4 separate regions of the Homo sapiens genome follow, and regions 1, 2 and 3 are each linked to region 4. The links are contacts of gene promoters, found by promoter capture Hi-C in blood cells and fetal thymus (Javierre and others, 2016). All regions are on one chromosome and are shown on one strand. Each heading gives the region's core, a stretch centred on a gene start or on the middle of the fragment in contact. The rest is flanking DNA. Distances are from core to core; before and after follow the strand shown. Region 1 overlaps DOCK5 (dedicator of cytokinesis 5). Region 2 overlaps DOCK5 (dedicator of cytokinesis 5). Region 3 overlaps DOCK5 (dedicator of cytokinesis 5). Region 4 holds the start of GNRH1 (gonadotropin releasing hormone 1).

Region 1 (6,789 bases), core at 3,882-6,381, 170 kb before region 4:
CCAAACCTCTGGAGCACAACAAAAGCATAGCCAGGCCACTGAAGTTGAGGACCAAACCAAGAACTATGTTTAGGGTCCAGTTATTCTCTCAGAAGGTTAGGGTACAAATGAGGTGGAAATTAGGCAGATTTGACAGGGACCGTGCATTTTCCGGGTCTAGCCCCCATGTAAACCCTTGTGATGGTGAAACGGCAGAGATGGTCCGCGAGGACCCCGTGCAGGTTCCTAGGGTGGGATGGGATGACACAGGATGAGAAAGAAGAGATGGGAAGGCAGGAGGAAAGGAAGCAGGATTTGGCCACAGAACAGCTAAATTATCTGCATGGTTGCATGGAAGACTCTGCTATTACTGCAGCCTCCCTTTAGTTTTTGGCAGAGGGCTGGGGTTTCACATTATCCTTTTCCCTTCCACACAACTCAATGTAATCATGTAGCTCCCAGGGGCAGAGAGAAGACAGAGAGGGCTGTGTGAACTCTTCCCTTTTTCTTTCTACTGCTTATTCTCACCATCTCAGGCCCAGCCAAAGCATCAATTCAAAGTCTCCAAGACACTAGGGCAGTCGCCTTATCTTTTCCAGAATCTTTTGCTTATGGAAACCACAGCTCTTCCAATCTTTTTATTTATTTATTTATTTTTTGAGACGGAGTCTCGCTCTGTCGCCCAGGCTGGAGTGCAGTGACACGATCTCAGCTCACTGCAAGCTCCACCTTCCGGGTTCATGCCATTCTCCTGCCTCAGCCTCCCAAGTAGCTGGGACTACAGGTGCCCACCACCACACCCAGCTAATTTTTTATATTTTTAGTAGAGACGGAGTTTCACCATGTTAGCCAGGATGGTCTCGATCTCCTGACCTCGTGATCCGCCTGCCTTGGCTTCCCAAAGTGCTGGGATTACAGGTGTGAGTCACTGCGCCCGGCCTACAGCTCTTCCAGTCTTATCAGCTCATACCTCTTTTGTCAGGAGGCCAGGTTAATTCACTTTGTCTAGCCTCAATGGATGCATATTTTCCTATTGTGCAGGTAAAAAGCATAAGTTCAATTTTTCTAACTCTTCCATGTGGGCTTGGAAAGAATGTATATTTAAGGATTATTGGGTGCAAAGTTCTTTTTTTTTTTTTTTTGAGATGGAGTCTCATTCTGTCGTCCAGGCTGGAGTGCAGTGGCACAATCTGAGCTCACTGCAACCTCCACGTCCTGGGTTCAAGCGATTCTCATGCCTCAGCCTCCTGAGTAGCTGAGATTACAGGCATATGTCATCACACCTCGCTAATTTTTGTATTGTTAGTAGAGACGGGGTTTCATCATGTTGGCCAGCCTGGTCTTGAACTCCTGAGCTCAGGTGATAGCCCCATCTTGGCCTCCCCAAGTACTGGAATTACAGGTGTGAGCCACCATGCCTGGTGGCAAAGTTCTATATATGGTAATTAGGTTCTAATTTCTGAGTCATTTTTCAGGTTTGCTATATGCTAACTTTTTTTTCCTGCTTTCTCTGTTACTGATAGAACTGTGTTAACTCTTCCACCATGATTGTAGTTTGTGTCTCTTTATGGTGATGTCAGCTGTTTGCTTTATGTATTCTGAGACTTGTTTTTAGGTGCCTGCTAATTTAGAATTGTTGTGTTAAACAGTTCTAACTTTTAATTCCTATTTATTAAACCTTTATCATTGTCTTACTCTGTAGTAACATGCTATGTCTTACTCTGTGTTGTGTAAAATTGCAGCCAACTCACTGGCAAGTCCCAGGGCTTCAATTTTTGTCCTCCTGGCTCCACAAGGCCATCAGAAATGCTGCTCAGCTTCTCAGCCACTCAGGAATCCTTTCTTTTTGTTGTTGTTGTTGTTTTTTGTATTTTTTGGAGACAGAGTCTTGCTCTGTCGCCCAGGTGGAGTGCAGTGGCTCAATCTTGGCTCACTGTGATCTCCGTCTCCCGAGTTCAAGCGAGTCTCCTACCTCAGCCTCCTGAGTAGTTGGGATTACAGACACCCGCCGCCATGCCTGGCTAATTTTTGTATTTTTAGTAGAGACAGGGTTTCCCCATGTTGGCCAGGCTGGTCTCGTGGCCAACTCCTGACCTCAGGTGATCCGCCCACCTTGGCCTCCCAGTGTTGGGATTACAGGTGTAAGCCACCGCACCTGGTCAGGAATTCTTTCTTAAATCAGCAGATGGATGCCCCAAGCGGAAAGCAGCCCCAGATGCTGAGCTGGTCTTTTTAGGTTTTGGTCTCTTTCAGATTTTGACCTGGTAATTCTTCACTGCCATGTTAGTTTGTGTGTGTGTGTGTGTGTGTGTGTGTGTGTGTGTGTGTGTGTGTGTGTGTGGCGGGGGCGGGGTGGGGCAGTGTATATGTTTGTGTGTGTTGTTTTGTCAAGCTTTTCTAATTGTCCTACAGAGTGTGGGAGGGAAGAATGGAGACTTGGTCTGAAATAAAGTAGGTAATGTCTTTTGTTTTTTGTTTTTTTTTTCTTTGAGACAGGGCCTTGCTCTGTCACCCTAGCTGGAGTACAGTAGTGTGATCATAACTCACTGCAGCCTTGAGCTCCTGGGCTCAAGCTATCCTCTTGCCTCAGCCTCCCAAGTAGCTGGGATTATAGGCATGTGCCACCACACCCAGCTAATTTATTTATTTATTTTAATGGACACAAGGTCTCACCAAGTTGCTCAGGCTGATCCCAAACTCCTGGCCTCAAATGATCCTCCTGCCTCAGCCTTCCAAAGTGTTGGGATTGTAGGCATAAGCCATAGCACCTGGCCCAGGTGATACCTTTAAAATATTTCTTCAAATTTTTTTTCATTTTTATGTGACCTCAGCGTATTTCTAAGAAATAGTTAATTGAAACACTTTGTCCTGTTAGGGTTCATATCAATAGTAATTTTAAGGATGAGTGTGGTGGCTCACTCCTGTAATCCCAGCACTTTGGTAGGCTGAGATGGGAGGATCCCTTGAGGCCTAGAGTTCAAGACCAGCCTGGGCAACATAGTGAGACCTTGTCTCTACAAAAAATTTAAAACTTAGCCAAGCATGGTGACATGCACCTGTAGTCTCAGCTACTTGGGAGGCTAAGGTGGGAGGATTGCTTGAGCCTGGGAGGCAGAGGCTGCAGTGAGCTGACTACACCACTACACTCCAGCCTGGGCAACAGAGTGAGTCCCTGTCTCAAAAAGAAAAAAAAAAGTAATTTTAAGTGTCTCACTATACTTTACCAAGAGTTCTCCAGTTGGCCTATAAACATTCCTCAAGACAGCATCCCTATGGACCAAGCTAAGGGGGTCACTGAGCTTAGTTGAATATAAATATAATCACAGATACATTCATTTCAAATACCATGCACTTGAGTCCAAACAGTCCAAAACCCACAGTGCTTCTAGTATATTACAGCTCACACTACGATATGCTTGTAGGATGTGCTGGCCCATTTGACAGTCACACAAAAATGGTTAACTTCTTCAGTTATGGTGATCCGGATGCTGTAGTCCTGCCCGCAAGAAACCGCTCTTCTTAACTGCTACCATAACATTTTTGCTGCGTCAGCCGTAGAACTTTTTCATCTCAAAGGACGTCAGTGCCTGTTCTTTAAAAGTAAGCGCATGTCAAGGCGTGAAGGGGAGGGAGGTTGAGAACACTTGAGCCTGCACCGTGAGCTTACTGAGTTCATTAACCACCAAGGGGCAGGTCAGCTTGACAGAGAGATTACTATATTGGATTATATTTTTCATTAGTGTTTATTTTCTGGGATTAATTTTTAAAATCGTGCCTACCTTGCCAGATGTCCCATGATAGGTCCTTGTATCTGCTAAGCACTTAGAGTTCTTGGCTTGATTCTCAAATTCCTTTATTATTTAAGGCAGCTCGAGGCAAGGGCCGGAGTGCTTTGCAAACATGAAACGCGATGGGAATGCTGAGTAATCACTTGTCTTCTACCCCTCTTCTCCTAGTCCCTCTTAACTTTAGAAAAATAAACACAATGAAAACACCGACAGTCCTGCCGGGTGGAACTGAAGGGTGACACTGGCACTGTATTGTGGCCCTGGGATTCGTGTCTTCCAGCTTCCTGTCGGAGCTGACTTTGGGGCGCTCCCTCTGCACTCTGCCCCACCCTGCCCTCGAGATGTCTGCATACCAGATCTGTGTGTGTTTTTCCAGCGTGGACATGAATCCACCCAGACATGAAACATTTTTTCTGCCCACCGCCCGGGACAGAATACTATTTTTGATTCTCCTTTTTCTGTTTCCTGCCGTGTGGTTGGCTGAAAAATTTCAGAAAGTATTGGCTCCTTGAAGGCAAAGCCTGTTCCTCCTTCATCTGCAGAGCCTGTGCCTCCCTAGCTCCTGGTATACGGCAGGTGCTCAGCAACAATCTATTGAATGATGAAGGTAAAATAGGAGACCAAGGCAAGCTGGTGTAGAGAGTAAGGGGGTCAGGGGTCACCTCCACAAAACCCTGGGTATTACAAGGCAGAGGTGCTGTTCCTTCTCTATGAGGGAAATACAGGGGGTGCTAATGTTTTTTGGTCCTCTGCAATTATAGGAGGATTTAGTCATTGCTGAAGTTTTTGTTTTTATTTTATTTATCTTTTTTTTAGAGACAGGGTCTTGCTGTCCCCCAGGCTGGAATGCAGTGGCATAATAACAGCTCACTGTAACCTTGGCCTTTTGGACTCAACGGATGCTCCTGCTTCAGCCTCTTGAGTAGTTGAGACTACTGGTACATGCCACCATGCCTAGCTAATGTTTTTAATTTTTTAGGAGAGGTGAAGCCTTGCTGTGTTGCCCTAGCTGGTCTGGAACTCCCGGCCCTTAGCGATCCTTCCACCTCGGCCTCCCAGAGTATAGGGATTACAGGTGTGAGCCATCGTGCCTGGCCTTGTGGGTTTTTTTGTTTGTTTTTAATAACAGCTTTCTTGAGATATAATTCAAATACCAATCAATTTACTTATTTAAAGTATACAATTCAATGGATATTTACTAATGCAGAGGGTTGGGCAAATATCATCACTATCTACTTTCAGAACACTTTCATCATCCCATAAAGAAGCTCTGTACCCATCGGTAGTCATGCCTCCCCTGGCTCTAGGCAGCTTCAAATTCATTTCATGTAAGTGGAATCACATAATATGTGGTCTTTTGTGACTGGCTGCCTTCATTTGGCATCAGGACTTCATCTCTCTCGCCCTCTCTCTTGCTCTGTTGGTCAGGCTGGAGTGCAGTGGCATGATCACGGCTCACTGCAGCCTTGACCTCCTGGGCTCAAGGAATCCTCCTACTCCAGCCTCCCAGGTAGCTGGGACTATAGGTGCACACCGCTACACCCAGCTAAATTTTTATTCTTTGTAGAGACAGGGTCTCGCTATGTTACTGAGGTTGGTCTTGAAATCCTGGGCTCAGGCAGTTCTCCTGCCTTGGCCTCCCAAGGGCCAAGTGTCCCAGTGTGTTGGGATTATAGGCATGAGCCACTGCACCTGGCCCAACTTCATCTCTTTTCATTGCTGAGTAATATGTATTATGTAGGTACATTATATTTTATTCATTCATCAGTTGGACATTTGGGTCGTTTAGATGTTTCAGCTACTGTGAATAATACTGCTGCAAACATTTGCGTGCAAGTTTTTATGTGGACATATGTTTTCATCTCTCTTGGGTAGGTACCTAGGAGTGGAATTGCTGGGTCATAGGGTAACTCAATGTTTAATATTTTGAGGAACTGCCAGACTGATTGAGCTTTGGCTCCAAAACAGGCGACCAGAGTCCAGATGAACGAGCTTCTATCCATCATCTTTTTTCACTCATTTGACTCTCTGGCCTTGCCCCTGAACTTCATTTGTTGCTAAATGAAGGAAAGAAGCAGAACTGACTGAGAAGCTATCTACTGCTCATCCGTTACAGGTCTCCAGGAATTATTTGTCTTTAGAGACTTTATCAGGAAACAGAATTCCTTAAGGACTGAAGCGAGCGTTCTTGCCTTTCTTCATCTTTGGCACTGGCTTGCCCACAGTCATTTTTGTGTCTTTGCTTCTTTTACTGTGGAATGTATTTGGCAGCGAGGTAGCTGTTTATTACTGTGAACGTTCCTTTCCACCCCAGATCCATGGCAGAAAGTGCACTGACTTCTGGAGATGCCCGGCCGTGAGGTCATTTATTCATTCAACATTATTTGCTGAGCACCAAGTATGTGCCAAGTACATTTATTGAGCATGAGAGATGTTCTGGGTACTCTGTGGTCTCTTAAGTGACAAAATGCAAGTTCCTGCTCTCATAGGGTTTACATTGGAGGGATAGACAAAACCAAGTAAACAAAGTAAGTAAACAAAACAATTCAGATATGTGCTTACAAATGCTATGGGGAGAAGAGGGTGGTATTGCAGAGGCCAGAGGTGGAGGACAGCGATGGAGAGGGAGACGGAAGACTATTGTAGGTTGGTAGTTTTGTCCTTGTCTAGATTGACTGTCCCTGGGCAAGATATTGCAGCTGTCTTTGTGACAAGGACATTTCATCTAAATTGGAGTCACTTTTTGAGTCAAGAGTGATCAAATGTAAGTGCTTTGAAAAGTGCATAGTACCTTGTATGTGTCAGGTTTCAGCATCCTGTTACCATGGAGCTCCCCTCTCCTGTGATTAACGTCACTCCAGTCACAAGTGGTTTTAGGCCTGGAGTCTGAGGTTCCTCTAGTGCTGGTTTCCTGTGTTTAATTCATATCCATCGATTAACTCTTTTTCTGCTCCGTAAACCACTCACAAGCTCACGAGAAAGGGCGGCTGGTATGCTGGTGTTAGCAGTGATTTCTGGGGTA
Region 2 (6,295 bases), core at 1,139-3,638, 150 kb before region 4:
GAATCACACGCAGTTTTTGAACTGAACACCCTCCTTTCTCATTGCTATATTCATCAGATGTTTACTCAGTGCCTGCTGCATGCCTGGCACTGCAAAGGACAGTTCCCTGTTTTGATCATTAAAAAAATTAAATAGACCAGGCACATGGCTCATACCTGTAATCCCAGCACTTTGGGAGGCTGAGGTGAGCTGATCACTTGAGGTTAAGAGTTGAAGACCAGCCTGGCCTGGCCAATATGGTGAAATCCTGTCTCTACTAAAAATACAAAAATTAGCCGGGCATGGTGGTGCATACCTGTAATCCCAGCTACTTGGGATGCTGAGGCAGGAGAACTGCTTGAGCCCGGAGGGCGGAGGTTGCAGTGAGCCGAAATTGTGCGACTGTACTCCAGTCTGGGCAACAGAGCAAGACTCTGTCTCAAAGAATGAATAAATGAATGAACGCATGAATGAATAAATAGTCAGAAGACTTATCTCCTTCTTTTTCACTTCGATGGTGTGCCTATGCGTGTATGTTTTATACTGATAGAATTCCATGGCCAAACTCACCTGACCTGAGGGGTGGCGCATTGAGAAAGTGTCCTGTCTACTGTGCCCCACAGTAGACACACATTTAATTTTTGTTTTCAATTATTTGATCAGTTTTCCAAAATGGTTCTGAATCCCACCTCCATAATGAAAGAGGTCATTGTCACCTTGTGTCTGTGTGTGTTCTTGGTCTCATCAGTAACGGGATTAGAATTCACACTCATATTCCCCACGCCTGCCCCCGTCTCAAAGCGAGGAGGAGAAGGGATGTACTTTTTATTTGGGGCTTTGTGTCTGGTGGGGAAGCACATGCAGGATCCACTCTGTCATCACCAATGCTAGGGGCAGTTTAATCTCAAATGTTCTTGCTGTTTCCTGTTTTATTGGCAACGGATTAAAAGAGAGAAAGCAGAGTGTTGTACAGACAAATATAGCACATGCAACTGGACACAAGAACAACCCTGTCAATGTTCACTGGTTTCCTGTCTGAGTGGAGTAAGGATCAGTGGGTATATATGCCTCCGGGCACTGGGACATCCCCTCCCACCTTTATGATCAGCCACCCCTGACATGTCATGTTCATGGAGTTCACACCAACTCTTCCAGGAATAGGGCTGGGAGCAGTTAGCCAACAGTGCCAGGTATAAGCTCCATGTAAGATACCATGAAACAGATCAGCATCACTGTCTCCGGATGACATCTCCTCTGTGTGTGAGCATATCACACAGTAAACAGCAGAAGCTTTGGTACACATAACACTCACATCTGGGACTTGCTTCCTGTTGGTTAGATCTGGTCCTCTGTTCTCTGATTTCTATCCACCAGTTTCTCCTCTTTCTCTTAGGTCTTTCCAGGCCTAAGTCTTCCCCATGGGCAGTGTTACAATACTGATGTAGAACTGCCTCTTAGGGATATAGAATGGAGAGCAGTTTGACACTGTGAGGTGCTGAAAATAACCAGGTAACTAACACCCGTTGATTTTGAGTGCATTTGGTTTAAGTGGGAGTGCTGAGAGGAACTACTTTAGAAAAATCACTATGTAGTTGACCCGTGAAAAATATGAGTTTGAACTCTGCAGCACTTCCACATGGATTTTTTTTTTTTAGCCAAATGCAAATCAAAATTACAATATTCTTGGGACATGAAACCTGTGTAAAAGTATATGCGGGTTGTGCAGGGCTGCGTGCCATACTTGAGTATGTGTGGATTTGGGTATATGCTTTGTGGGAAGGAGGTTTCTGGAACCAACCCCTTGCATATTCTGAGGGATGACTTATTTTATGGGCTACTGAGTACTGCATAGTTTCCATGTCACCCCTTATGTGAAACTTATGGGAAGCATCTCATGGCAAGTAGCATCTGAGGGGTTTAGGAGTTCACAATTACACTCCTTCCCATTATGTTATCTCTGAGCTGACACAGCATGTTTGCCTCTTCATTCACAAAATATCCTATGCTCTCTGAACCCAAATTTTAATTTCTACCTTTTTGATGTTTCCACCATGCTTTTGTGGAGGTAGCCAGTCAACGTAAGTGGTGTCCTGCCAACCTGATCTCAGGAGTTTAGCTATTGCCTGGGTGTTCCCATTTATTCTCTTTACTTTGGGCTGAGGTGTTTTTGTTTGGTTTTTGTTTTGTTTTTATGGCCATATAACCAAAATTCTTTTCTCTGTAGGGCATTTTCCCTGAAACATATATCCATTTGAAAGAGGCAACTGTGGAAGACCTGGGGTAAGTTCCAAGCTAGGAAGATTCCCCAAAAATGATGAAGATGTAACATTATCATTAATGATAATCTTTAGGCATTAATGCCTTATGTACGTTAATAGTTCTCTCATCTCAGGCCAGGCGTGGTGGCTCACGCCTGTAATCCCAGCACTTTGGGAGACCGAGGTGGGCAGATCATTTGAGGTCAGGAGTTCGAAACCAGCCTGGCCAACATGGTAAAACCCCCATCTCTACTAAAAATACAAAAGTTAGCTGGGCTTGGTGGTGGGTGCCTGTAATCCCAGCTACTGGGGAGGCTGAGGCAGGAGAATCACTCGAGCCCAGGAGGCAGAGCTCGCAGTGAGCTGAGATCATACCACTACACTCTAACCTGGGTGACAGAGCAAGACTCTCTCTCAAAAAAAAATAAAATTAAAAAATTTCTCTCATCTCATCAGTTCTACTTCTCCTATGAGAGAGAAATGAAGAAAAACTTTTCACTCATACAATTCCTTCCTCTGTCTTCTCTTTCTATAATTGTTCCTCCTTTCCATTACTTCTCCAGAATACTAAACACAGAAGTAGCAAAAACTGAGGGCTTTTGCCTCTACATTACATTTATTATCTGTTCACTGATTGTGTGTGTGTGCGTGTGTGTATGTTTGCACACATGAACATTTGGGACTCTGACTGATAAGATCTGAGAAGCCCCCAATTCAGGATCCTTGAGAGAGAGATGATTAAGCAACAGCCTGCATTTACCAGCTCTGAGCCTTGGATGAATCACTTAAACTTAAGTGGATCCTGGGTTTTTCACAGCATATTAGGGGAAACAATCTGACCCTACTTTGATCATGAGCTTGTCATGAGATTCGAATGAGGTAATGTATGCAAATGTGCCCTGAAGATAAGATCTGCTATATTTTGGGTATTCATATTTCTTGCCCACCTCATCTTGCCCACCTCATTTGTCCTGGGAAGTACTGCCTCTGTGACAGCTAAGAAGAGTGAGCTACTTAGTCTAAGTGGGAGAGAGAGAGGTGACTTAGGTGATGGTGAGTCTCTGGACAGGAGAATTCTGGAGGCAGTACGGAGAGGCTGGGGTAGGACTGGAATCCTGGGGCTGATGGAGAGGAGAGTGGGGCCGAGGAGAGAGTGGACAGCTGGGTCACAGAACCATGCAGCCTCACAGCTAGAAAGAGCATTCCCAGTTGTAGTTCAGCACCATCATTTCTTTTCTTTTGTTTTCTTTTCTTTTTTTAATTATGATGGGCAAGCTTTATTTTGTATGAACTTGATTTCACAAAATTAGAATGGCAATTCCACTTAAAATTAACTGTTTAAAAAGTGTAAATGTCACGGTATAGATCTGTTATCCAAAACTCCAAAAGGCAGTGAAATTGGTAACAGATATTCCTCCTCATCTTTGGACCCATACAACAGCAGAATTGATGAAACTGGTTCCCAGGCAAGTATGTGCCACTTGCTCCCGTGCCTCAGGGAGGAGAGGATGTTATGACACAGGCGTTTTTGTTGCAGTGACTTGTGGATAATTGCTCCTTATTAACACTGCTAAAATTATGTTCACATGTTTTACTTTGTGTGGGAGCCGATGACTCTTGTCCTTTCGTTTTTTGAGTATTATCTTTCAAATGAGCGTTGGCCTCAAACCCGCTCATTCCAAAATGCATCACAGATGGGAATTTAAGCCTCTTCACAAAGCAAACCACTGGAAATTCATAGGTAGTATGCAACATTGGTCTGTAACTGATAATAGGGCAACATCATTTCTTTGGAACGTAATTTTCTTGATTCCACAAGAAGTGACAGGATAAGAAAACTCATAGTTAAATGAGAACAGTCTTGTTACAGGACAGTTATCTCCCAGGTGTATGTCATCAATTCTAATTTCCGTGTTGTTACCAAAGGGCCTTATTTTCATTCTGACTAACAACCAATCATCAGAACACATTGAAACTGTTGCTGGGTCAAGTTCAAAAGGATTCCAAAACAGTAAAAAAAAAGAGGAAGGGCCCACCAAGAGCACAGAGGTCTTCATCGCTCCAGACTCCCAGATACAGCACAGGGAACAAGAAATGGCAGAACCATCATTTCATAGACAAGTGGTCAAGATGTCCTCAAAGCCGTACAGCTCTTTGGTGGCAGAACCAGGACCAAAAACCAGGTCTCCTGCCCTGCTGGAGAAGTCCTCTTTCCGGTGGGCCGTGGGCTGCCTCCACTGCCACCCACCATGTTGGAGGAAACGTAGGTGGGGAGGCACATTCACACCAATTAGGGTTATACAGGATGCCCAGTTACATTGGCAATTCAAATAGTAAGTAATTTTTCATAGTAAGCATTTCCCAGATATTTCATGGGTCACACTTATTCTAAAAAATCTTACTATACCAGAAATTCAAACTTAACTAGGTCTCCTATATTTTTCCTCATTGAGCCTGGCAGTCCTACCACCAGTTCCAATTTGTTTGCTTGCTCTTGCTTTCTCCTTTTTTCTTTTTGCTAATCATAAAAATGCCAGAGAGGATTTCTGTGAATAAATGTAGTACCTACCTTTATGAGAGTCTTCTGTGAGTAAGCAAGGATTTTGTTAAGTGTACGTTTTCTGTGTTGTGAAACTGCAGATGAGAAGAAAACATGGGACTATTCCAGAAAGGGGTGCTGCCTCCGTATCCCCCACCTCTACCCTGGCCTCTGCCCCAACCAGGTCCTGGGTGGAGTCACAGCCCCAGGACACTCGTGCCACACACACCTTTCCATCCAGCCTCCCAAATGAAACAGCTGCTTGGTGGAACCAGCTAAAATGCTGCATATTTTGCTTCCATCTTTGAGAATCACTGAAGCCAGCCTGGCTCAGTAATCGAGTCTCCTGGAGAAATCTACACTGGGGAGGTCGAGGCTGGGCCGCAGGCTCATTCAGTTGCAGGAACGGAGCCCATTTTGAGGACTGTGCTGCCTTACTCTCCTTCTCTTCTCCCAGATGCTTGGATGCGATAAAGTCCCCTGCACAACTCCTGCCCCCAGGCCTAACCAGCTTCATTCTCAACCTTGAACGTTGGGAAGTCTGATCCCCATCAAGTAAAGCAGTGCTGATCAGCCTAGAAGAAAGTGACCCTCGTTTGGTTCTTTGTAGGCAGCATGAAACCGTGATTCCTGGCGAGCTCCCCCTGGTGCAGGAGCTCACGTCCACTCTGCGAGAATGGGCTGTCATCTGGCGAAAGCTCTACGTGGTGAGTTTCCCCTTGTGGCTTGGAGCCCCAGGGTCACTCTGGGTCCTCAGCCTGTAGGTCCTTTGCAGGGTGTTGGCCCCTTATTGCTGACTTCATGGAGTGGGATGCATTCTCCCTGGATCACACAAAGGCTGATAAGCAGCAGATTCTCATTTCCCCAGAGCTGGGTCACTGATAGCGGGTAGTGGAGTAACTGGGCGTAATCATTCTAGCAGTCTTTTCTCAAATGATAAACATGCTGATTGTGAAAGTACTAATGATAATAATCACTGCAAACACTTCTGCAGTCTTTCCTAAGTGCCAGAAACTATGAATCCTCACAACATTCCTATAAAGTAGGTGCAATTATTATTAATTTGTTAATAAGGAACCTGAGTCATGCTCTTAGCCTCTTCATGTATACCAGTGAACTGAAATTTATCGATATTTCAGGGCTCAGCTGCATGAGGATGACATTCTTTACCTTGGCCCACATACCTTACAGACTCAGAAACTTGAATAGTGTTAAGTTGTGGTCTGAGAGTCACCTTTTTGGGCAGACTCACAGTATTCTTTCTCCCAACACTGGTTTGACCTCATAATGCTAATACAGTGTGTCAGTTCACAGGGAAATTACAAGGAGCCAGCACATCCTCTCCGTAATAAACAATAAGCTCAAGTTGTGTGCAGGAATCAGCACCAAGTAAATCTAGCATTTAACATGATGAAACTGAGAACAGCTGTCTTGCAAGAGACCAAGGATGCTCAAAGTCTATTGGCAGCAAGTCTGCCTCATCTCCAGTGTAGAAAGCTCTTTCCTTAATGTTTTTTTT
Region 3 (6,800 bases), core at 1,337-3,836, 220 kb before region 4:
ATCTGAAAGTTTGCTCAGTCGCAGCCTCCCTGACAGTACCCTAGCCTGGCAATCAGGTGCCTTTGTTTGCAGAGTGGGGCTGATTACCAAGTAGTTAATACTGGTTGGCTCAGAACCTGTCCTCAAAGTTCAGAATAGATTTGAGTATATTTTTGATTTTAGAGCCTTATGGCCAGAAATGGCCTTATCTTGCAAGAATCTTCCTGGGAAAAAAACATATATATATATATTTTTTTCTTCTCTTTGAGACAGAGTCTCGCTCTGTCACCCAGGCTGGAGCGCAGTGGCACAATCGTGGCTCACTGCAATCTCTGCCTCCCGGGTTCACGCGATTCTCCTGCCTCAGCCTCCCCAAGTAGCTGTGACTACAGGCATGCACCACCACCCCCAGCTAATTTTTGTATTTTTAGAAGAGATAGGGTTTTGCCATGTTGGCCAGGCTGGTCTCGAACTCCTGTCCTCAAGCGATCCACCTGCCTCGGCCTCCCAAACTGTTGGCATTACAGGTGTGAGCCACCGCACCCACCCCTGGAAAATATTTGAATTCCCAGGGATCTCTGGGTGATGGGACTGTTACTTTCTTCTGATCCTGTGCTTTTGGGGTGGTACTCACTCACTGGCTTAGAACAGCCTGGAATCCTAAGAGGAATGGATGAATGAATGAATTCACACACAACAAACTAACGGAAATGTTTTGAGTCACGCCACCTTGCGTGTGAATCCCCTTACTGTGGCTAACCCACCTCACTGTTCTGAGGAAGCCCATGTTCACTGAGCACCTTTTATGTTCCAGGGTCTTGCTGGGCTGGATGGTGGTGAGGATCACACAGTAGTCCCGCCTTATCCTCAAGGCATGCTTGAAACCACGGATAGTACCCAAGCTTGTATATACAATGCTGCTTCTATACAAATATATTTATGATAAAGCTGAATTTCTAAATTAGGCACAGTAAGAGGTTATCAACAATAACTAATAATAAAAAAGAACAATCAACACAATATGCCAGTATTACCACTCTTGCACTTTGGGGCCATGATTAAGTAAAATAAGGGTGACTTGAACACCAGCACTGCAATACCCCGGCAGTTTGTTTTTGAATTTTTTTATTTAATATTTTTGGACCTTGAGTACCTGAAGCCACAGAAGGTGACACAGGGGACACTAGGAGACTACTGTGTAAGATAAAGAGTCTATAGAAACACACATAGAAGCAGTAGGCAGGGATTCATAATGGCTGCTTTCCTTTTCTTTAGCTTGATAAGAGTGCTACCAAATACATCTCCAGTGTCATGAATTCATGGATGTGTGACCAGTAGCTCTTGGCCAGCCATTTCTGGTCTTAACACCCAGATCATCATAGAATATGAGGATAGGAATCCACTGATGACAGAATCCTGAATGACTATCTTATGTGCCTGAAAGCCTGCCTCAAAGAAGGCTGATGTCTTCTTGAATTAAAGAGTTGCTTGCATATAGAATATACTGGAGTCATTTTTCAGAAGATCCTTACATGGCTTGGCAGAGGGTGGCATCCAGTTTATCTTTGGCGGAATTAGATTTGCTGCTCAAGATTGTTTTCAAATTGTTTGATAGCTTCAGGGAGGTCCACTGGTAAGCTCACAAATTCAGAAATAGTTTGAGGCTACAGAAGAATTCTTTTCATGTTTGAGCTGTGATCTAAGCCAAGAGCCTTGGAAATTTTGAATCCGTCTTATATTTTCTTTCCTGAATGAGAAATGGGTATACTTGCTCAGTTCCGATTCTGACAACATGACTTATTTCAAAAACAAATAGCTCACTCCGTGAAGCAAACCCTGTATCACTCTCCTCTGGTGACATTTCGATTCTGATACAATGTGGTGGCATGGGGATAGATTTTAGACCAGGAAAAGAGAGAGCCTCTCATTTGTGGCCCAAAAGACTCAATTTTAAAGATCAGATTGGAATCTGTCAGGGAGGACATATGGACATAGTGATTTTTTCTTTTATTTGCCTTTTTTCGCCTCTCTTTACTTTTGGTTTAATGTCTTTTAGGACTTGAGGTACAAAATCCCATGTTGTGGAGGCATTAGCTAACAGTTGTAAAACCTTAGGAAAAGTACAGCATCTCAGTGATCCTGCCTTCCTAAAATTGCTCCTCAACAAATACAGATGGAGGAAATAGAAATATCTAAAATGAAACGTGTTCTTTCGTCTTAGATGTCTTTATCTTCTTGCTTTTATCAGCAGCCTTGAGTGACAGGATTTTATACTTTTGGAAGATTAGAGGGTTTGTTTGTTTTTCTTGCAGAAATAGTTACTTATACCATGTTCATTTATCTGCCTCAGTTCTGAGAATTCTTTGCCAATTTTTTTAATAGCATGTGTTTGGATGAATTATAGACTTCATAGAAGTAACTTCAGGAATTATCGACTTCATAGTCGATACAACATAATGAGACCCTGTCTGTACTTTAACTTTTTAATACAAGAAATTTTTTAAAATTTTAGGGGCATTTAGGTTTTTGGGGGATAGTGCATGGAGTGAAACTAACAGAAGTATTGATCCCAGGATTAGGAAGTTGGGTTTGTATTTCAGTCTCTGTTACAGGAGTGACCAAGTGGCTTGACTCTCTTTAGCTTAGTTTTTCCATCTGCAAAACAGAGATAATATTTTCTATTACCTTCTAGATTCTCAGAGTGTGATGAATTTTCAGTTGTTGAAAATTTCTGCAAATGAATTAAGCGATGCCTGTTAGGCCACATTAATGGACTAAAAACTGCTAGGATCTAAAGTTGACATGCCATTGAACTTTCTGCCTGAAGACTTACTGAGGAAACTTTGTCTACAAAGGTTTGGTGCAAAGAACCCCATTACTTTATGGCCAAATTTTCTTCACATGCCGATGGTAATCCAGTAGTCTTTCTTCTAACTTCTTGGCGGCTTTCATATACTCTTCAGACTGGCTAAGTCATACGTTAATAGGAAGAACTAATTTTCTCTCCCTGAGGCTGAACTTGTGATCTTTTTCATCTGGTTTCCACTTCTCAGATTTCCCCAAATCTCTCAGTCGTCTTTCCCAAAGTATTTAAAGGAAGATTGATTTTAACAGAGTGCTATGGACTGAATTATGTCCCTCACAAATTCCTATGTTGAAGCCTCAGCCCCTAGTGTGATGGTATTTGGAGATGGGTCCTGGGAGATAATTAGGTTTAGATGAGTTCATGGTGGGGCCCTCATGAGGGGATTAGTGCTTTTTTTAAAAAAAATTATTTTTAAAAATGTCTTTTATTAAAAAGTTAATTAAAGTACAGACAGGGTCTCATTATGTTGGCCAGGTTGGTCTTGAACTCCTGGCCTCAAGCAATCCTCCCACCTCAGCCTCCCAAAATGCTTGGATTACAGGTGTCAGCCCCTGTGCCTGGTCTCTTCTTTTATGTGGAGAGCGCTCTCCCTCTCTCTCGCTCTTGCTGTCTCTCACTCTCTCTCCCTCTGTCTCTCTCTTTCTGTCTTTCTCTTTCTCTCTCTATGCTATGTGAGGATACAATGAGAGGGTGGCCACCTATAAGCCGGGAAGAGAGCCCTCACCGGAAACTGACCATGATGGTAACTTGATCTTGGACTTCCAGCCCCCAGAGCTGTTAGAAAACACATTTCTGTTATTTAAGCCACATGGTGTGTGGTATTTTGTTATGGCAGCCTAAGCTGACTGAGACACAGGGAGTTGCGTGTTATTTGAAATACGAGTCCACTGTTGCCAGATCAAAGTTCAATCTCTGTAGTTTAATCCTAGATTTTTCCCTCCTCTTTTACAGGGATTTGAATCTAGTGAAAGTAATTCACATGCACATCAGATACATGCCTTTAGCAGCCTTCTGGCCTTGAAAATCCTGCTGTTGCTGATTCAGTTGTCAGGGCCCAAATCAGCTGGTGAACTCATGAGTTTGCAGGTCTAGAATTGTAGGTGTGGGAAGGGGAGAGAGACATGGGTTACTGAAGACTTGTGCAAATAAATGCTGTGTTCATCTTCACCGATTCACCAGGTATCTGAGTAGGAGGTATGCACTTAGCACTTGGAATACTCAGAGATAATGCCATTGCACACTTAATTGATACTTCTCCTAACACTTAAGAGAAGTGGACATAGATTCTGTTTGTGGGAAGTTTATAATGAATTAAAAGACCCCAAGTATAAAGCCATAAATAACTCCAGGGAAAGGAAGGCTGAACATGAAAAAAGTTGCAAAAAAAGTCCAGTTGGGGTTATTGGAGTTTAGAGAAGCAGAGATTATTCTAATTGAGGGAGTTGAGGAAGCTTCAGGGAAGTAGTTGAACTTTATAGAGATGGACATCAGGTTTGGGAAGGCTGGGGACCTGGCACAGCGTGAGCCCTGGCCCTAACGCAGTTATTTGTGGCAAGTGGATAATGAGGAAGTTGTCCATTCTTGCTGAAGCAAAGGGTGGGTAAAGTGGAAAAGAGGGAAATGATATAGATTTTGTCAGATTATGGGGAGACTTGTTTACCTTGATTTTTTTTCTTCCTCTTTAACCATTCATGCTGCAATAGTGTGCTGGTAAACTAGCTCTGTAGAGTGGGAGGAAAAAACTTGAGTTTGTAGCATTCACCAATATCTGTGGTGTAAATACTCCCACAGTGGCCAATTTCAGACCAGCAGTGGATTAAGAGATAGCTCACAGAATTCCTGAAAATTCCTGAAAATGTAACAGTTGGCCCTTCCAAACTAGTACAAGTTTGCTCCAGTATTCTGTGAAAAACCTGGGCTAGTTCCTACATGACAAATAGTTACAGTACCTGCCTGCCCACAGCCTGGATAGAAGACCCAGGGAAGGCCTAGGTAGCCTCGTTTTACACCATCTAAGATTCCTGTGGCCATCACTGATTGTCCCTGGATGGACACACTACCTAGAGGCCATTCCGTAGCCTGGACAATGACATATGGTTTGACGCAAAGAAGTAAGTACTCAATCAGGTTCCTTCTCTTGGGAATTTGAATGAGGAAATACCAATATGTTTTGCCACAGGGGCAAAAGCTAAAAGGATGTCGTTTGGGAGTTGAGTTGGTGGCAACCTGAAGCCATGTGGAAGCCAATGTTGTGAATGGAAACCACAAGGAAACTGAAAAAGCTGATTGATAGAGAGAGGGGAGCAGATGTGGAGAGACCCTACAGCCCTAGAGTGGCCCCTGTTCTTAGCAGCTTTCCAAGTCCAGGTCTAAAACATCCCTTTTCTGAGGCAATTTGAGTGAGTCTCTGTTCCTTGCAATACCGTGGCATCACTGAAGAAGTTTATGTGGCAACTCAGGGTACTTTGCAGAGCTTTCTATGAATGCAGACATACCTCCTTCTATATAGCACATCACTTTATTGATCGACCATAAGATTCATGGTCGATCAATAAAGCAATGGTTCATGAAGTTTGATGAAAGAAGTTTAATAAAAGAAGCCATTGCCATAGCATAGAAGTGCAAGGTGAGGCAGCAAGTGCTGATATAGAAGCTGTGGCAAGTTATCCAGAAGATCTAGTGAAGATATTGATGAAAGTGGCTACACTAACAACATATTTTAAGTGTAGATGAAATAGCCTTCTATTGTAAGAAGATGCTGTCTAGTACTTTCATAGCTAGAGAGGAGAAGTCAGTGACGGGCATCAAAGGATAGGCTGACCCTCTTGTTAGGGGCTAATGCAGCTGGTGACTTTAAATTGAAACCAGTGCTCTTTCACCATTCTGAAAAATCTGAGGGCCCTTAACAATTATGCTAAATCTACTCTGCCTGTGCTCTATAAATGGAACAGCAAAGTCTGGATGACAGTACATCTGTTGACAGCATGGTTTACTGACTATTTTAAGCCTACTGTTGAGACCTACAGCTGAGAAAAAGAAGATTCCTTGATTCAAAATATTACTGCCCATTGACAATGCACCAGGTCACCCAAGAGCTTAGATGGAGATGGACAAGGAGATTAATGTTTTCATGCCTGCTGACACAACATGAATACTGCAGCCCATGGATCAAGGGATAATTTTGACTTTCAAGTCTGATTATTTAAAAGAATACATTTCATGAAATGGTGGCTGCCATAAATAGTGATTACGCTGATGGTTCTAGGTGTAGTACATTAAAAACCTTCTGGAAAGGATTCCCCATTCTAAATGCCACTAAGAATATTGATGTTTCATGGGAGGAGGTCAAAATATCAATATTAGTAGGAGTGTGGAAGAAATTGATTCCAATTCTCATGGATGACTTTGAGGGGTTCAAAACTTCAGTGAAGGATGTCCCTGCAGATGTTGTGGAAATAGCAAGAGCACTAGAATTAGAAGTGGAGCCTGAAGATGTGAGAATTGCTGCAATCTCTTGATAAAACTTGAGCAGAGAAGAGTTACTTTTTATGAATGAGCAAAGAAAGTGGTTTCTTGAGATGGACTCTATCTTGGTGAAGATGCTGTGAACATTGTTGACAACCAAGGATTTAGAATAATCCATAAACTTGTTGACAAAGCAGTGGAAAGGTTTGAGAGGATTGACTCCAAATTTGAAAGAAGTTATACTGTGGGTGAAATACTATGAAATGCTATCAAATAGCATCACATGCTATAGAGAAATATTTCATGAAAGGAAGTATCAATTGATCTGGCAAACTTAATTGCTGTCTTATTTTAAGAAATTGCCACAGCTGCCCCAGTCTTCAGCAACTGCCACCCTGATCCATGAGCTGCTATCAATATCAAAGCAAGACCCTTCACCAGCCAAAAAATTAAGAGTCCTTGAAGGCTCAGATGATCATATGCATTTTTT
Region 4 (6,193 bases), core at 3,637-6,136:
CTTAAGTCATGTTAGTAATGGTCATTCCTTCTGGCCCAATGGATTTAAATCTTCTTCTGCCCAGTTTCCTCTTCAATCAGACTTTCCTGAAAAATATATAACAAATATATCAAGACTGACTTTACCAGCTGAATTTCATTACATTTTGACATTTTAATTTCTAAAATATCAGTCTGGAAGGAATTGGTCTGTTTGATTTTGTGCTCTAGTTAGTGCTAGGGAGACATGATAAATTGGGTTTGTTTTTCTGGTTTTTTTTTTTTTTGAGACAGAACCTCACTCTGTCACCCAGGCTGGAGTGCAGTAGTATGATCTCAGCTCATGGCAACCTCCACCTTCCAGGTTCAAATGATTCTCGTGCCTCAGCCTCTCTAGTAGTTGGGATTGCAGGCATGCATCACCGCATCTGGCTAATTTTTATAGTTTTAGTAGAGACAGGGTGTCACCATGTTGGCCAGGCTGGTCTTGAACTCCTGGCCTCAAGTGATCCACTTACCTCGGCTTCCCAAAATGCTAGGATTACAGGCATGAGCCACTGTGCCTGGCCGATTGGGTCTTTTTAAGCACTTAATATACATAAAATCTACATTAATAGTTTAAGGATGAGTTGTGAGGAAGGAAGTGAAAAAAAAGTCTGGTCAATTACTTTGCTATTAAACCAGCCTTTGCTTCAATTTCTTCATAATGTCATGTTTGACAAATTTCACTGCTTGCCATTTTTGTAATGCAGTAAGCAAGATTAGAAAAAGAAAGGAAATAGGCTGGGCGTGGTGGCTCATGCCTGTAATCCCAGCACTTTGGGAGGCCGAGGTGGGCGGATCACAAGGTTAAGGGATTGAGACCATCCTGGCCAACATGGTGAAACCCCATCTCTACTAAAAATACAAAAATTAGTCCAGTGTGGTGGCTCATGCCTGTAATCTCAGCTACTCGGGAGGCTGAGTCAGGAGAATCGCTTGAACCCAGGAGATGGAGGTTGCATTGAGCCGAGATTGCGCCACTGCACTCCAAAAAAAACGAAAAAGGAAATAACGACGTCTGCCCACTTTTTTCTTTGTTCTGTGGGTATATTAAGTTGAAGTCACTGTAGACAATTAAAATTACAGCTTATTTTTATATATGATTTATTTGGGCTTTCCCAGCTCCTAGGCATAACTGATCATTAACTGTAATGCCTTCTGATTGCTGCAGATAAGTGGACAATAGAGATCAGAGAATATCAACATTGAATCCAAGATTCAACTTAAGTCAGGCACAGTGGCTTGCACCTTTAATCCCAGCACTTTGGGAGGATCTTGAGGCTGGGAGTTTGAGACCAGCCTGGGCAACATAGACCCTGTCTCTACAAAAAATTAAAAAATAAAATCAGCTGGGTGTGGTGGCAAGTGCTTATAGTCCCAGCTACTAGAGAGGCTAATCTAGTCTCCAGAATTGCTTGAGCCTGGGAGGTTGAGGCTGTGGTGAGCATTGATTGCACCATTGCACTCTAGCCCGGGGAACAGAGCAAGATCCTGTCTCAACAAATAATTTTTTTAAAAGATTCAATTTATACATTCAATTCTCTTTATACTTTTTCATCAAAAACCTAATATGATTAGTGTATTTCCATTTTGGGGGGCGGAATTTGGAGGTGATTATTGTCCTATCAGGAAACTGGAAATCAAGTCCATCACTCTCTAAATTATAAATTTAGTAGTTTGGCATTTTTCATTCCAAAGAAGAGAAAAAAAAACCCATCTACAGCAGTGTTTCTCATGTCTCTATTCCCCAAGGTTCTGGAAAACCATGTAAGATAAAGCACAGTTGCAGGATCAGGTGGAGGGCTGTGGAGTAGCCTGGAGTGGAGTAGTCTAGGGGGTTTGGTGATTTTACTTGAAGAAATGAAATGCAGCAGTGGGAAGAAATTTGTTTTGTTAGTTATCCCAAAAGCTAGAACCAGGATTAAGAGATAAAAGTTACAGAGAGATTTCAATTCAACTTCAGAAAAAACAAACAAACAAAAAAACGTTTCAGCCCCTAGTGCTGTCTAACCACCAACTGGGATTGTCATGAAACACGGTCCTACCACAGGAGGTAACAGAGGAGTCAGGAATGTAAGCCCCACAGTATCTGGGAGGTAGCTGTCCTAAGTGATCCCCAAAGGCTTATCCACCTCTAGAGCTCTATGCTGTGATCATGTTATGATCACTTTAACTTACCAGAGCTCCTTTCAGGTCTCGGAGGGGAGAACGTGGCTGGTGCGTGGTGCATTCGAAGCGTTGGGTTTCTGCCAGTTGACCAACCTCTTTGACTATCTGAAGAAAGAGAATGTGATGCTTTGAGATGGAGATAAAGAAATGAAATGGTGTTTTCCATTTCCACCAAAAAATTGTGGAGAGTGGGGTCAAGGGGGATGTGGGGCTGGGGGAGATTGGGAAAGTTGCAGGATTAGCATAGGGACTTTAAGGACACAGATCTGCCATCTGACATTTCTACTGAATGGCATGGGGATCTGGAGATAATGGAGACAGTAAGAAGATATCATATTTTCCCCTTAAAGATGAAAAGAGGGAGGCACTTTGAGCCTCATGAGAGTCAGTATACCCAAAAAAACAAAAAGCAAAAAACCCCCAAGAGTTTATAGTTGTAAAAAAAGGTTGGTTTTTATTTTCTAGGTTTTACTAAATATGTTATAGTTCAATGAGATTTGCTTCATGTATAACCTGCAGAGAAGAGGCTTCAGATTCTGGGTCTTCTTTAATACTAAATTATCTTTATTATTTCTCAGAAAAGAGATAATTCCTTCCAATGATAATGAAATGATTTAAAATTTTTCCCATTCTCAGTCCTAGGTTATTTTTCAGGTTAATCAGCTAACATAGATGGCTTCTTTCCTTACATGACCCTGATGAGTGGTCATATTTTATAAACAAAAATCCTCCCGGCACTTTGGGAGGCCAAGGTGGGAGGATCCCTTGAGCCCAGGAGTTTGAGACCAGCCTGGGCAACATAGGGAAACCCCATCTCTATAAAAAGTTTTAAAAATTAGTTGGGTGTGATAGTGCATGCCTGTGGTCCCAGCTATGCAGACGGCTGAGGTGGGAGGATCACTTGAGCCCAAGAAGTCAAGGCTGCAGTGAGCTGTGATCGTGCCACTAAATTCCAGCCTAGATAACACAGCGAGACCCTGTCTTAGAAAATAACCCCAAAAAACAAGAAAGCAAGTACCTCACGTTAGTGTTGGTGCCAGTCCTATAATCTAATCTATATGAATTTAAATCAGCATGTTTTCTACTACGTTATCTTATCATCTTGAGTTTGCTAATTCCTGTATTCTACCAGTCTCCAACTTTGCTTAAATGCCCCTATCAGTGAAAAGAAATTATAGGGCATGCATCCTTGATAAGGATACTCATTTATAAATTATAAAAATGTACTGATCTAATAGCATAGATATGTTTAAAAGATGAAATGAGGAAAAAAAAAACGAAGTTCTAACGTTTTTTCCAAATCCCAAAGAATCATCTTCTGATACAGACCTTGACCCTATCCCATTGTTTCTAATTCCTTTAGCAATCCCATACACTCAGAGTATGACGTGCTGTCTCACACTTGTTGCTATTAATATATTCTTTTGGAATTTTTCCAGCTCTTTGTTTAGTCCCTGTGTGAACTGAAAGTAGGAATGGGACTTCTACTTTGTAAGTGCCTTATCTCACCTGGAGCATCTAGGGTACAACATCATAGAATATTGACATTGGGGCTATCCTGAATGTTTAATATAGTTAAATTGAATAAAATCACTATGTCTTATTTTGAAGCTGAGAGAAACTTACCTCTTGGAAAGAATCAATCAAATTTTCGGCATCTCTCTTTCCTCCAGGGCGCAGTCCATAGGACCAGTGCTGGCTGGAGCAGCCTTCCACGCACCAAGTCAGTAGAATAAGGCCAGCTAGGAGTTTTTGAATTGGCTTCATTCTAAGGCACATGAATGCACAATCAAATTAGATCCAGACAAGGTTGAGTATAAACTAAAAGACCTCTTTAGTGAAAAAGCTAGCATCTGTATCACTAACCCTGCAGAAGATGGAAGTCAGAGTCAGTTTTTACATACAGACACTGAAACTCAGAGACACTTGCTGGCTTGCCTTTAGTTTCTTAGCCACTGGGGACAAAATGAGTACTTAAGCTCACATGTTCAGGACCTTTTTAGTACTAAAATAGTCTATACTTTTATTTTTATTGTTTGGTTATCCAAACCCCATAATTCATCCCTTATCAAGTTCATCATTTTGCCTTAACATTTCCCCTGTTGTGGATTGGTCTTCAACTCTTTCATTCCTGAGATAAAGAGAACTGAGTCATCTGTTAAGAAAAGTAGCTCCTACTAGGAATCTCTGGCTAATATAAAATTGCTTGACATTACATGGCTACCCCATGGTACTAATGACATTTTTCTATTTATCCTTCAGTCTTCCTAGCATTACTGCTGGCTGAACCATCTGTGGGAGAGAGGACTCAACACTGTTCAAAGTAGTTAGTCCCAGACCAGATGCCTTCCTAGCCAAGGGGGCCTCTAATTTTCTAATGAAATGTGTCTCCAAGTTAATTTTCATTTGATGGGAAAGAGGCTAAAAACTAAATCAAACACTGGTCGATAAGCTGTGGGAGTCCCCAAAGCCTGGATCTCTGTGGCTGGTGATGGCAAGGACAGTGAAGGACAGGACATCATTAGATACCGTCACACCTGGATTTAGCCCTTGGGCTGTCAAATGCCCTGTAGACATACAATAGCATGCAATCTAAAGAAGAAAAACTCGTGCTAGAAATAATACAAAGCCTTTTACCTGTTTAGAGGCAGAGAGCCAAAAAGATCCCAATCTTCCCTTGAAGTAGGTTGAGTACTGTGACTTTTCTGTTTTCCTATCTTCCTTTTTATAGGGAATTTTTCCAGGACATTGAAATCTTTCCTGCTGGTAAATTATACTGCAAATGGACTATGCTTTTTTTTTTTTAATGGTAATTTTTAAAAATCCTCACATAAAGCCCTTTAATGGTGTATGTAATTGGAACACCCCCTGGTATATCTGTTAGATTTACTTAAGTGCAGCCATTAAAACCTCAGCTAAAACTTTTATAGCTGAGGACACAATTCAAAGAGATTAAAATCCAGCTAGATTGGATTCCCTTGAGGAAACCAGCAGACCTATCAAGAGTTCAAGGAAAATAGATGTCTTAGATTAAGTGAAGTCAAATGCATACATAACTTCCACAAAGGAGGCTATACAACAAATATAGGACATTGAGTCAGGATGTCTGGGAGCTTCTGGCTCTTGGATTCTTCATTTGTAAAAGGAAGGGTGTAGACTAGATGGACTAGATGATCACAGAGTTGCTTCCAATTTTAAAAATCTGATTTACAAGTAAGTGACACTATATACCAAGTCCATGTAGGATCCTAAATCAGACAGTTGTGTGTTTGAAAATTCCCTCATCTACCCACCAGGTTCCCTGCTTGACTTACCTTGAAAGCCTTCTAAAGCATCAAAAAGGCAAGAAACATATTCTGAGAGCAAGACCATATTGAGCAGACTTACATCAACAGATCAACTCATTTCAGTAGATGCTTATTGAGTTAAATATGCAAATCACTCTTAAGGGCAGTGGGAACAGAAAGATGAGAAATTATAGTTATTTAATAAATAGCAAATGTATAAGAGCATTCATTACAATAGCCATGCAAAGTGGGTATCATTATCTAAATTTTATAGATGTTCCACCCCAGAGGTGCAACCGTGGACGTGTTATTTACACAGGACAAGCATGTAAAATACACACACAACCATTACTCTTAATTACATTTATTTGAATACATGGTTGTCTTCCCCTAATTTACCCCTAGGCTGAAACCTGTAATAGTCAAAGATCCCATCTTATTTAAATCTCTCTTAATAAACCCCCGGCATTTAGTGAGCATTCAGTAAGTATAGGTTTGAATGAATGAATGAACGAATGAATGAATAGAAAGCAAAAAGCTTTTAACCAGGTAAGGCCTAATGCTGCCTCTATTTCTGCATCAAAGATATGCTTTATCTGACACAGAATTAAACTTTCATGTATAATTGGCTGTAAATCCTGTTATATTAGCTAAGCTGTAAGATGGCTAAAAAAAATAACTGGATATTTGTTCATTTTACAGCTGGGAATGGCAATT

Evidence for each region. Contacts are between HindIII fragments. The CHiCAGO score rates a contact against its expected background, and 5 or more counts as called.
Region 1: a fragment that was not itself captured here is called in contact with the fragment with the promoter of GNRH1 in region 4 in 1 of 17 cell types (neutrophils); the score reaches 6.7 in neutrophils.
Region 2: a contact is called between a fragment that was not itself captured here and the fragment with the promoter of GNRH1 in region 4, in 1 of 17 cell types (neutrophils). The highest score is 6.1, in neutrophils.
Region 3: a fragment that was not itself captured here is called in contact with the fragment with the promoter of GNRH1 in region 4 in 1 of 17 cell types (neutrophils); the score reaches 7.8 in neutrophils.

Annotation. Positions count from the first base shown.
Region 1 is chr8:25,244,437-25,251,225 of GRCh38, forward strand. All of the region lies in intron 2 of DOCK5 (dedicator of cytokinesis 5), which reads left to right. Among named protein-coding and RNA genes, the nearest start is that of DOCK5, 63 kb to the left of the region's middle. The HindIII fragment of the contact is 5,525 bases long and covers 2,370-6,789 here.
Region 2 is chr8:25,273,183-25,279,477 of GRCh38, forward strand. DOCK5 (dedicator of cytokinesis 5) reads left to right here. Exons shown (of 52, transcript NM_024940.8): 4 at 2,204-2,259; 5 at 5,387-5,483. It also overlaps the pseudogene LOC124901864. Among named protein-coding and RNA genes, the nearest start is that of MIR6876, 69 kb to the right of the region's middle. The HindIII fragment of the contact is 2,243 bases long and covers 1,268-3,510 here.
Region 3 is chr8:25,201,790-25,208,589 of GRCh38, forward strand. All of the region lies in intron 1 of DOCK5 (dedicator of cytokinesis 5), which reads left to right. Among named protein-coding and RNA genes, the nearest start is that of DOCK5, 21 kb to the left of the region's middle. The HindIII fragment of the contact is 3,415 bases long and covers 880-4,294 here.
Region 4 is chr8:25,419,375-25,425,567 of GRCh38, forward strand. It overlaps GNRH1 (gonadotropin releasing hormone 1), which reads right to left and starts at 4,887. Exons shown (of 4, transcript NM_001083111.2): 1 at 4,827-4,887; 2 at 3,816-3,957; 3 at 2,199-2,294; 4 at 1-86. The coding sequence starts at 3,956. The coding sequence ends at 45. The HindIII fragment of the contact is 12,746 bases long and covers 1-6,012 here.